Regions from separate parts of the Homo sapiens genome. Here all the other regions are linked to region 4. The links are contacts of gene promoters, found by promoter capture Hi-C in human tissues and cell types (Jung and others, 2019). All regions are on one chromosome and are shown on one strand. The core of a region is centred on a gene start or on the middle of the fragment in contact, and the rest is flanking DNA. Distances in the headings are between cores, read along the strand shown.

Region 1 (2,992 bases), core at 168-2,667, 140 kb before region 4:
ATACAGTTTTATGACTACCAATTTAATTGGAAAGTATTTTTGAATGGCCCATAGGCTTACTTTCTCTCAATGCACAATATTTCTAAACAGTGAGAAAGAATTTCATTTTGCTTTAGTTTCCATTGTTTCTGGAGCCAAAGCAAAACATTTGTGCTTTTTGTTGATGTTGCTTTTTGTTGATGTTGCTTTTTTAGTCTGTACATGATAAGCTCTGGTGCAGAAAGGAGAGAAAAATGAAGGCATATACATCAGAAAAGGTCACCTCTGAAACTGGCTTTGGCTTTATAGGACATAAATGCTATACAATGACTAACAGGGAATTTAATATAAGATTTTTTTATACTTGATACCATTTCAGTCTTAAGACTATATTTTTAGTAAATTATTGTAAATATATAGTTTTGCAAGTCTATTGACTGTTTATTGATATAATCAGAGTGCCACAAAAAGATTTGAGAATTGCCAGCAGCCACATATCCTCTCATAGAAACATCATTCTAACCCCCTTCAAAACATCACAGAAAAGGGAATCCAGACCATAAATTCTTTAGAAGAGACTATTTTTCTTTTAATGGGGTGAATTGCCAGAAATTCTTTGAAATGAGGAATCCTATGTCATTTCTCAATAATGTGGGAGAGTGAGCTATGTGATTGTGTATAGTAACTCCTCTGCTGCCATGCTGTGGTATGAGTGAAAGTTCAGAGATCAAAGTGACTCCAAGATGCCCTAATTCAGGTAACTTGAAGATGCAGGTTTGACTTGTACATGAAAAAATTAACTTTATGCTACATCACATGTTGCAGCTAATGTCAGTGCTCAAAGAGGATGTCGGAGTTGCAGTTCCATCTTTCCCCACAGGGCTGCACACTCTGGGATCCAATAGTCCCCACTACAGTGTAGACAGATGATTCCCAATCTATATAAACATTTCAACTCCACCCTTGACATACTTGTAAAGCTCTCAACATCTAAATAACCTTCCTAAGTCTAGAGAGTCCTGTTCCCTACTAGTGGCCAGTGAAATGACAGTGAAGTTCCTAAAACGTAAAAGTCATCCCGGGAGCAGCAGCAGAGCAATGTGCTTGGAGCTGTCCATGGTGCTGACTATTCATTCAGCTTCCATGTAACTTGGATCCACCTGCATTGGCCGTAACAGAGAGTACCCAGAATAGCGTGGCCCATTTAACCCCAAATTCTTTCTGGTTCTGTTCTCCTAGTGGGGACTGTGTTAACTTATTTGTTAACACTGTGGGACCATGAAAACCATCTGACCCACCTCCTCCTGCCCTTTGCCTTCTCTGCCAGATATACTGACCTTACCTTGACAAATTTTTCCCCTGGTTAGATTTTGTGACTGCATAGTACATGACTACTCGCAAGGACACCCCTCCAAATCTCAAACCACACACCAAATCTTGCCCTTTCTCACCTTTTCTTGTTTGTTTTCAGAGGACCTGGGAAGGAAACCATGGATAACTTAGTGAGATCTACCTCTTACTAGGTAAAAATTTCCCAAATATCAAAAGTATGTGCATTCCTATATCCTAACGAAAATAAGTCAGCCATCTGACTTTCACTTTAGAAGAAATTATATGTATGTGCGAGTAGGGGTTGTGTGGGGGGAAGGGAATAGGGGAGCATTCTATAGCAAAATATATAGCCCTACACCATTTCTTTGTCCTATTTGGATACCGATACTCCCACTTCCTGAGCTACTAAGAGTCCAGCAGTAAAATGACTTACACAACTCCCACCCTGCCTATAATAATGAGCCACCCTTTCTAAAAATGAGCAGAAAGTGTGAAAATTGAGTGTTTGAAACCAAAACTAATTATCTCAAATTACTACCTTCAGTCAGTCACTTCCAGGCTGTTTAATTAGCAGTCAGCCTCATGTTTAGGATTAATTAAACAGGTGTAAAGGGTATATAAAATAAAAGTGCAGATAGAAGATGGTTGTTTGATTAATTCAGTAATGGACTTTCTCCCCAAAGTCTTGAAGAGTTTTCTCTTTGCAGATCAATGTGTGGGAAAGCAATGCAAGAGTATGCATTTGTATTTTTATTTTTTCACTCTACAATAATACACATCAGGGTATATGAATAGTATTTCAAGACAAGTTTTCAAGTTTTCATGAAGTCACATCTCATTTTTATTTTATTGTGGTAGACCCCTAAGCATTGGTTCATTAAGCATTTTAATTTCTGTCCCAGCATCCCCAGTATTTCTACCACCCGCAAATTAAACCCTACTGGCAACTGAAGTAAAAATTTTTTAAAGACCTGGAATGTTCCTTTTATTTTCCCTACATCAAATTCACTGCAACTACCCACTTAACCTTGGAGGTTTCATCTACCAGAAACACAGCAATGGAAAAAAAGGTGGTGAATGGTGAAGAGAAGCGGAGGAAAAAAATGAAAGGAAAAAGAAGAAAAGCATCCCAAGAAAAGAAGTTGCTAGGAAAAGCACCCATTATCAGTTCCCCCATCCTTTAAAAAAAAAAGTAGTGTCTTTTATAAGCCTCTGTTAACTCCCATGGCCAATGTAAAGGATAAAATACAAACTCTTCGGTCTGGTTCACAAAGATCATCAGATTCTGTCTCATCTTCCTCCCCTGACCTGTACCTTCTCTCCATATTCTCACAGCATCTGCACCCTTCTCCATACCAGGGAGATTTAATGCTCTCCTCTATCTAATGATCCTCTATACAAATTCAATATCCAGCTCAAAAGTCACCTCCATCTGGGGACAGTTCACTAACTCCATCAGGCAGAGCTGTCTTTTGCTATTCCTGTCTTCCAAAGCCTCCGCCATCTAACATTAGAATCATGACTCTGCTGGCTTATGATCCTCTCAAGACCAAGCAGGGTCTCTGTTTCTTTATTTGGCATCCCCAACACCAGGCAGACCAAGTGCTCAATGAATGTTTGAGGGCAATTAATTAATTAAACTGCTGCAGGAAATTTAATACAGCTTCTTCCCCACCACCTC
Region 2 (2,848 bases), core at 74-2,573, 150 kb after region 4:
GGAGTTACATAGTCTCCCCAGTAGTTTTTTATGTGACCTAGGAAAGAATCACTTTCTCCAATCTTTCTTTAGCTTTACTTACACAGGAGGTTGTTGCAGATTCATAGAAATTGTCACTAGGCACCCAGAAGAAAATGTCTGAGACACACATGGCTATCTACAAACCCAGTATTTTGGCAAGGATCATGGTTGCTGCAAATAAAGCACACCTAACATACTGAGATCTGTCCGAACACCACACTTTAAAAGAGATATAAACAAATGGATACACATTCACACTGGTAGAGGACCTGGAGAGGGAGACTTGAAACCATGCCCTGCATGGAATGTTCGCATGAAGTGGGGAGATTTTGCCTGGCCAGCAAAGTCTTCAACTCCATATGAGAGTGTTGTATGGAAAAGGAATGTGTTCCATATAGTCATCCTTGCTGGGGTGTGAAAAGCACAGGAATGCTAATTCCAGTGCAACAGAATAAAGAATTTTCTGACCAAGCTGTCCTATAATTGAATGTATTGCCTCAGGAGGTGTTAAGTTTCCCACCACTAGGAAATGTTCAAACTTTGGCCAGGACATTAGTACAGGTATGGTGAAAGGGATTCAAACACTTGATGGGAACTTGGAGTAAAAAGGGTGGCTTTAAAGTTAATTCCGACCCTGACAGTTTGCAAAAATGAAAGGGATAAGACTGGTAATTGAACCAAACCTTCATGCCTCTGAATTCATATATGTAGAAATATAACAAATCTGAATAAACTTTTCTCACATGAACCATGCAATAAGAAGTCAGACTTACTGTTTTGATCTTCCTAATTCAAAGTTAGAATATACTTTGTACTGAGGTTTCTTTCATTAACTGAGACACAAGCCAGCAACTTGACCTATTAACACCAACACTGAGATCAAGCATTGCTAGTTTATCCTCTATAAATATCAAGTACAATTCAATTGGTTGAGCACCTACTATATGCCAATCATCGTACTAAAGTTTGGGGGATATAATGGTGAACAACAACAAAAAAACGTGATCTCCATCTTCATGGCATTTATAGTCTAGTATAATTGCTGTCTCCTACAGATGATATGAAGTCTACTGTTTTTAGGTTTTCAGTAATTTACTTTCCGATTAAAAATAATCAGTTTTTCAAAATAATTTTTAAAAGAAAAAAGCATTTTCCTTCTATTAAACACTCAGCAGAAAATTCATGATTATCCACCCAGACGTGTCCAATTTACATAATTTGAGAAACTCTACTTCTACCAAAAATACCTTACTGCTTATACTCATGGAGTTAGTACAAATATGCATAATATGTAAGAATCTGTTTTGCTATGACTCATTTATATAGACTACATCATTTGCCTAAAATATGATTTCATTAAGAGAATACAATTACTTGTATAATCAAAAGTCACTGATGAAAGTTAATCAGCTGGCTTTTTGCAGTCTTCATATAGGTAATACATGACTAGGTCAGGATTTGAAACATTTGAGGTTATTTTATCTAGTTCTTACATATACTGATAGTTTAATTTGCTACAAAACTAAATTTGCAGTTGAGCAAGAAATCTGCAAGTAGGATTAGGTTAGGAGCTAGGAAAAAAAACTTTCAAGGTTAAATTAGATAATCTAGTTGACTAACATTATCAATAATAATATACTGAAGAGTCCATAGGGATAGTCCATGAAGCCTTAAGTTTCTGCCATATACACAGTTACATTCTAAGGAGATGAATTCCTGTATTCTTGCCAGGGCTTATCCAGAATCATTTGCAGGTAAAATGATTCCTTCTACCTAACAGTAGTTGATTAGACCAGTTATAATTTAATCGGTCACAGGCAATCATACAGTCTAACACATGCTAGGTACTCAATGAAAAAAAATATGTATATATATGTGTATATATATATATATATATATATATATATATATATATATATATATATATATACTCTAGAGACAGGGACTTGCTCTGCCACCCAGAGGCTAGAGTGCAGTGGCACAATCATGGCAGCCTTGACTTCCTATATTCAAGCAATCCTCCCACCTCAGCCTCCTGAGTACCTGGGACTACAGGCATGCTCCACCACACCCACTAATTTATTTTTTCTTTTGTAGGGACAGGTCTCATTATGTTGCCCAGACTGAACAAGCAGTCCTCCCGCCTTGGCCTCCCAAAGTGCTGGGATTACAGGTGTGAGCCACTGTGCCCAGCCTCAATGAACATTTTTGAATGAAGGCACAAATGGACAGAAGTGGAAGTAAACTCAGAAATGGCATAACAGGGACTAAGGAGAAAAATAACTCACTCATTCACTCATTTAATAAATATTGACTGATTTCTATACATAGATTAGGCACTATGTGTCAGATACTGTTCTAGGGTATGTATGGGTAAACAAAACCAGACATGATTACACTGGCCCTCAAGGAGTTTACAGTCTAATTGAAGAGACAGATATTAATCCAAAATCACCAAATATAATATGCATACTATGATCGTGGTGTGGTAAGAGATATGGTGCTAGAAGAGGGTATAACAGAGAGATTTGACCCTGCCAGGGAGGTAAGGGAAGCCTTGCTTAAGGAAATAAGGAATTGCCCAATTAAAGTGTAGTAGAAAGAATGTTTTAGGCAGAGGGTCTGGCAAGTTCAAAAGTCTTCATGAAAGAATGAGAGCTAGTGTGACTGCTGCACGGTGGGCATGGTAAGGGATGAGATCAAGAAGACCCTTATAGGCCATGTACAGGGGTGATTTATCTTAACAGCAAAGTAAAAACATCAGAGTATGTAGCAAATATATAGATTTGCTCACTAAACTCAAATGTGCACACAAAATGTGGAGTTG
Region 3 (2,808 bases), core at 199-2,698, 160 kb before region 4:
AATGTGGAGCTAACCCTGCCTGAGAAGTCAGATTTACTCCTATACTGTTTTAAGTTTTTGTACCCTAAATTGCCTCATAGGCTTACATTTAAGTCCTGTCTGAGACAGTAAAACAAATGCTTTCTTTACTAAAGGTACACACACAGTGTTGCAATCACAGAATAGAGCTCATCTAACACTACTTAAGGGAACCCAGGAAGCCTTCACTAAGGAAGTATCATTGATGCTGAGTCTTGAGTGGAATTTTGCCAGGAAATAATTCATCTGATGTCCCATCTCTGCATCATTCTCTGTGGGATTCTTTCTGGGGAGCCACATAGTCATTCTGCACATGCCCATCCCAATCTAAGGGCTCCAGGACACAAACTGCGGTTGGCCAAGATGTCTTAAATGAGTTTTGTTTCAATGGCATAGATCCCCACAGCATCAAGTGATTCCCATCCTCCATGCCTGGGACCTTGTGACCACTTGTGCCAATACCAACTTGCTTCTGGCCCTCATTCCCACTCCAGTCCAAGCCAATCCCAGCTCTTGCCTGGAGACACACAATAGATTTCTAACTAATCTTCTGCTTCCATCTTGACCCTGCAATCCAGTTTCTGCACACGTACCTCAACTGTACCATATCTCTCCAAATCAAATCCCTTCAAAGGCTTTTACCAGATCTGTAAATTCCCAGCACCTAACAAGTTCTTGGAACTTCATTTGGGTACCAATTATGTGTTAAATGAATGGTGAATAAGCAAGTTCATCAGGGCCTGGAGTCATGACTCAATAGCAGAAGCTTTAGACCTTAGGACATCTTGCAGTCATGACTCACATCTCATGTTACATACCTGGAACATTCCAAACCAATTGAAAGAGGAATAATATATTCATCAGATTTATCTACTTCTGATTTTGCATCCACTCTATTTGTCTGACATAGCAGATCTCTGGTTCTTAATCTAAGAATGGTAGATCTACTATCTGGTTCTGGTTTTCAGATTCAAGTTTAGCAACCTGGGTGTCAATCCTGCTATCATGTACTTAAGCTACTGCTTCTGTTTCCCAACTGAAACCTGTCCCTAATTCTGATTCCCGGCTCTCCTTCCTTCCCATGTGCCCTCCGGTTGCGGCACTGGCATGCCCCAGAACCCAGATCCCATGTCTCTCAACTGTTGCTAAACAGAATGAGATGCTGAGCCCTGACCCTAGGGCAGGGTCCCATCCTCTGCTACAGAACAATTTTTATGTGGACTGTTAGCCACGCCATCTGACTTTCTCCAAGCTACCTACTTCCTGATGTCCTGTCTCCAGCATGCACTCACCTGCCATGTCCATCTATTCCTTCATTCAACAAGCACTCTCAGATTATCTTCTAGACAGTGCAGCTACAGTGCTAATGAAAGATGTCTGTGGTATGCTTTCCACCTCTGAAGAAAAAGAAGGGAATAATTTAAAAAGTGGTAAGATGTCTGCATGGGACCTCAGAAACTGACCAAGTGTTCACAGTGGTTCACCTCTTACCCTCTTACTTTGCCTTGACAGAACTTTAGTCAGGATTCTCTCCTTCCTACAGGTCCCTGAATTCTACTTGGCCCCAAGCCTGAGAAAGCACTAAACACTGGAATGTGGCCCCCTTATTAGCTTGCACTGAGAATCAGCTGACCACAGCAGGACAATTCCTGTCATACCCCACTGATCATCCTCCCCATCCCACTGGCCATCCCCCAGTTCCACTGATCATCCCCCTGTCCCACTGATCATTCCCCTCAACCATCCCACTGATCATCCTCCCATCCCACTGGTCATCCCCCCACCACCATCCCCGTCTCACTGATGACTGGTCATCCCCCCACCACCATCCCACTGGTCATCCCCCCCACCACCATCCCCGTCTCACTGATGACTAGTCATCCCCCCACCACCATCCCACTGGTCATCCCCCCCACCACCATCCCACTGGTCATCCCCATCCCACTCATCATCCACCCCATCCCACTCGTCATCCCCCCATCCCACTCGTCATGCTCCCCTGTCCCACTCATCATCCCCCGTCCCACTTATGACCCACCCCACCATCCCACTGATCATCCTCCCATCCCACTGATCCTCTGATGACCCCCCTGCCATCCCACTGATCATCCCCTCCTCCCACTGGTCATCCCTCCCGTCCCACTGATCATCCCTCCGCCGTCCCACTGATGACTCCCCACCCCCGCGGTCCCACTGGTCATCCCGCCGTCTGGCTGGCGACCCCCCGGCCGTCCCGCCAATGACCCCCCCGCCGGCCCACTCATCATTCCCCGCCGGCCCACTGATGACTCCCCCTCCAACCCACTGATCATCCCCGCCATCCCACTGGTCATCCCCCCATCCCACTGACCATCCCCCATCCCACTGATCATTCCCCGTCCCACTGATGACCCCCCCCACCATCCCACTAGTCATCCCCCCGTCCCACTGGTCATCACCTCGCCCCACTGGTCATCACCCCATCCCACTGGTCATTCCCCCGTTCCACTGGTCATCCCTCCATTGCTTAATCCCTTTTACAATTTTAATTAAGCTTTTGCTTATCTCTCCCTACCCTATATAATGGAAGCCTCTTTCTTTTTGATTTTGTGACACTTGACAATTTCTGAGGTTGGAGCATTCTCTCTGTGGCAATGGTCTTTCTTTTGAATAAAATCCCTCCTTATCTAAGTCTGGATTTGTTTTCATTTGACAGAATACATAGAAGAGAAATCTAACTTGGGTGGGAAGAGGAGGGGATGAAGATTAGAGAAGGCTTCCTGGAAATAAACTGTGAACAGAAAGAAAATA
Region 4 (3,002 bases), core at 23-2,522:
CGCCCCCGCCGCACCTGGCCGCCCGAGCGCCCGCGCCCACGCCCCGCGCGGGGCCGCCCGAAACTGGGGCCGCGCCAGCCGCGGGAGCTACCGAGGAGCTGTTGGGGTGCGTTTGCCTTTGCTTTTTAAACAAGATCCCCGAGACCTTTTCTCCATCCCCCCAACCCCCAGCAGGACACGGAACTCCGGCGTTTCTCGAAAGCCACAAAAGAGGGGCACGGAAATCCCAAGCTCGCCGTGCTAACTCGGAGAACGCAAACTCGAGGCAGAGCGTGCGCCGTGCGGGGATGTGGGTGTCGAGGACCCCGAAGCGCCCGGCTTCCCCCGCGACCCCCATCCTCCCTAGATCCTGGTTAGACATCCATCCAGCCCACGCTCAGAGGGCGGGGGTTACCCCGACTCATCCCGGAAGCCGCTAACTTCAGAAATCCCTCCTGTTAGGTTCGCGAAACGAAGGTACCTCGTCATCTCGGCGGGGCAAGTCCGGATTCCACCAGGGCAGGTCCGGGAGGTCACCCAGGGCAGACGATCCGAGGCAGAGCGCTTTAAAATCCTGCCGCCGCACGCCCAGTCAGAGCGCCGAGCGCGCCTGCCCCCTTCCCGTCACCCTTCAGTCTCCCATTCGCCGACTAAACTTTTGGGGGATCACATCTCCAAGCCTTGGGAGTTCCGGGTAAAGTCTCCCTCTTTTCTGAACCTCTTTACTGTAATGTAATCATGGGCAGACAAGAGGGGTGGCTGCCTTGTTCTTTGCAACGTAAAATCAACAGACACCCAATCAAGCTCCAATGCCCGGCCAGCCCCTCGCCCCCTGGTGCCCACTCTCCTTCTCCCCCCATTCCCGTCACCTCCGCCCGCTATTTCTCTCACAGACTACGGACATGCAGGGCCATCTACTTGTGCTCAGGAAAAACAAATCACTAGAGTGATATGAGAAGGAATGGTGCACCTGGCTGTCCGCTGAAAGGTTTTAGAGAAGAAAACGGAAAGGGGAATAAAACGGGGGGATTCTCCTTTTCCAACAAGCAGGGCGTTTTGGGGAAGTTTGGGGGCCAGGGGCTTTTTGTCCCGTGGTTCGGCACTTGCTTTCCTCGGAGCCGCTTTCTGCTGCCGGGCGGCGAGTCTTACCCTGCTCCCCGCAGAGGGCGCGGTGAGGAAGCCCGCCGGGGGCCCGCAGCTCCATGTCAGCGCCGCCGCCGCCGCCGCCGCCGCCGCGTGAGGCGAGCACAGCGGCCGCACTTGTGGCTGATCTCTGGGCTGAGGGGGCTGAGCTGGCCTAGCAGGCGCCAAGTCTCTTCCATGTGAATAACAAATACTCCCACCGGCGGCCGCGATTGGTCTGCGCCCGGCGCCTCCCGATCCTCCGCCCGCGGCCATTCACCCGGCGCGGCGCGGGGAGCCGCGGCCAGGATCGCGCCCGGGATCGCCAATCGCTTCGCGCCAACCAGTCACCTCGGGAAGCGGGAGGAGGAACCCCCGAGGGGCGGGAGCCTCTGGATTTCGGTGTCACCCAGCGGCCCTGGCGCGGGCAGGGAGGGGGACCCTCGGCCCGCGGATCCCCCTCCGCTCTTCAGCCTGAAGCGACGAGGAGACCAGAAATGTCAATAGTTCTGATTTTTAAAAATCATCCCCCCTTCCCCGCCCCCAAGAAAAAGGGGAGGACCCAACTACAGAGTGAGAGGGTGGGAAGAAGCGGGAGCGGTAGAAGAAGGAATATGGTTGTGGAGGAGCCCAGCGGCTCCGGCTGCCTGGCGAGCCCGGGACCGGCGCGGGGAGGCGCGACGCCCGCCCGAGCACAGCGGGCAGCACCCGCGAGCCCGGGTCCCCGGTGAACACAGCTCCAGAAAGCGTCACCGAGAATAACACATGGTAGATGACAAGTGTCCCGCCACATGCTTTCTTTTCGGGAATGCTTAAAGTAGAGCCGGCAAGCCGCGCGGTTCCCTTGCAAAGTTTGCCTGGCGCCGCGCGGCGGTTCCGCCATTTGTCCCGCCCCGCGGCTCTGGCGATTGTCTCCCCACTCCCCGCCCCCGAGGGTCTGAGGGACGCGTGCAACAGAGTCCCCAGGGCTCGAGGTACCACACAGCGCGGTCCGCTGCGGGCACTGCGCAGGAAGGGGCATGGGTGGCTACCGGGACGGTCATTTTATTGAGATGATTCAAGGAGCCGCAGACGCGGGGCAGGAAACTCCGGGGGAGCCGTGCTCGGGTTCTGCAGGGAAACCTCGGGATTCCCTTCGCATGCCGCATGCGGAAACCTGCCGGGCTCGACGTGCACAGTCCAGCGCTCCTCCCCACTAGTTACTGCCCAGGCCCCCCGATCCTGCACCCGCCGGAATGAGAGAAAGTAGCCCCTCGCCGCCCAGCTCCCGGGTAGCTGCTCCGGCCGGGCCTTGCGTTGGTGAGAAAGTTCCATCTAGAGGCGGCCGCGCGCAACTGCAGGCGGCGCCCTAGGCCCGGGCGAGCCAGGGAGAGCGGGGCGCGGGGGGAGAGGGGGCAGCCCAGGAGATAAGGAGGATGGAGAAGGACGGGAGAGACCCCGAAAAGGCAAGCTCTAGACCCCCGTTCGGCATCTCTACAATGAATTTTATCTTCCTAAGCATCATGAACTTATAAGCATTATGTCAGGAATCTTTCATTAATTCCTGTATATATCGCCTGTTCTGTTCGGGTTATTTTAATTTTCACATCAACTCTGTGAGATGGTCAAAATTATTAAGCCCACTCTACAGATGGAGGCAGAAGCCGAGGCTTAGAGACACGGCTGGAAAGTATTACAGCCAGAAATCAGTGTCTGGCTTCAAAACCCCATAGCACTTCCTCCCTGGTGGTGTTGGCTTTTCCCAAGGCTGGTTGTAATGTGCGAAGTTTCGATTGAGGAAACAGCTGTCTCTCTCCTAATTTCAAAAAAGGACCCTTGCCCTTTGTCACTTAGAAAAAATCTACAGGTTTTCAGCCCAGGGCACCTCTTCCCCTTTCGTTCCCTTCCTTCTCCCATCTCAT

Evidence for each region. Contacts are between HindIII fragments. The study calls those that stand out against the background at their distance.
Region 1: a fragment that was not itself captured here is called in contact with the fragment with the promoter of GRM8 in region 4 in 1 of the 25 tissues and cell types used here (bladder).
Region 2: a fragment that was not itself captured here is called in contact with the fragment with the promoter of GRM8 in region 4 in 1 of the 25 tissues and cell types used here (adrenal gland).
Region 3: a contact is called between a fragment that was not itself captured here and the fragment with the promoter of GRM8 in region 4, in 1 of the 25 tissues and cell types used here (dorsolateral prefrontal cortex).

The regions. Positions count from the first base shown.
Region 1 is chr7:127,106,833-127,109,824 of GRCh38, forward strand. All of the region lies in intron 2 of GRM8 (glutamate metabotropic receptor 8), which reads right to left. Among named protein-coding and RNA genes, the nearest start is that of MIR592, 50 kb to the left of the region's middle. The HindIII fragment of the contact is 5,062 bases long and covers 1-2,992 here.
Region 2 is chr7:127,406,136-127,408,983 of GRCh38, forward strand. No RefSeq gene overlaps it. Among named protein-coding and RNA genes, the nearest start is that of ZNF800, 15 kb to the left of the region's middle. The HindIII fragment of the contact is 8,913 bases long and covers 1-2,848 here.
Region 3 is chr7:127,089,599-127,092,406 of GRCh38, forward strand. All of the region lies in intron 3 of GRM8 (glutamate metabotropic receptor 8), which reads right to left. Among named protein-coding and RNA genes, the nearest start is that of MIR592, 33 kb to the left of the region's middle. The HindIII fragment of the contact is 3,292 bases long and covers 1-2,808 here.
Region 4 is chr7:127,251,669-127,254,670 of GRCh38, forward strand. It overlaps GRM8 (glutamate metabotropic receptor 8), which reads right to left and starts at 1,273. Exons shown (of 11, transcript NM_000845.3): 1 at 1,129-1,273. RefSeq lists an enhancer at 2,111-2,360 and a silencer at 2,481-2,540. The HindIII fragment of the contact is 12,389 bases long and covers 1-3,002 here.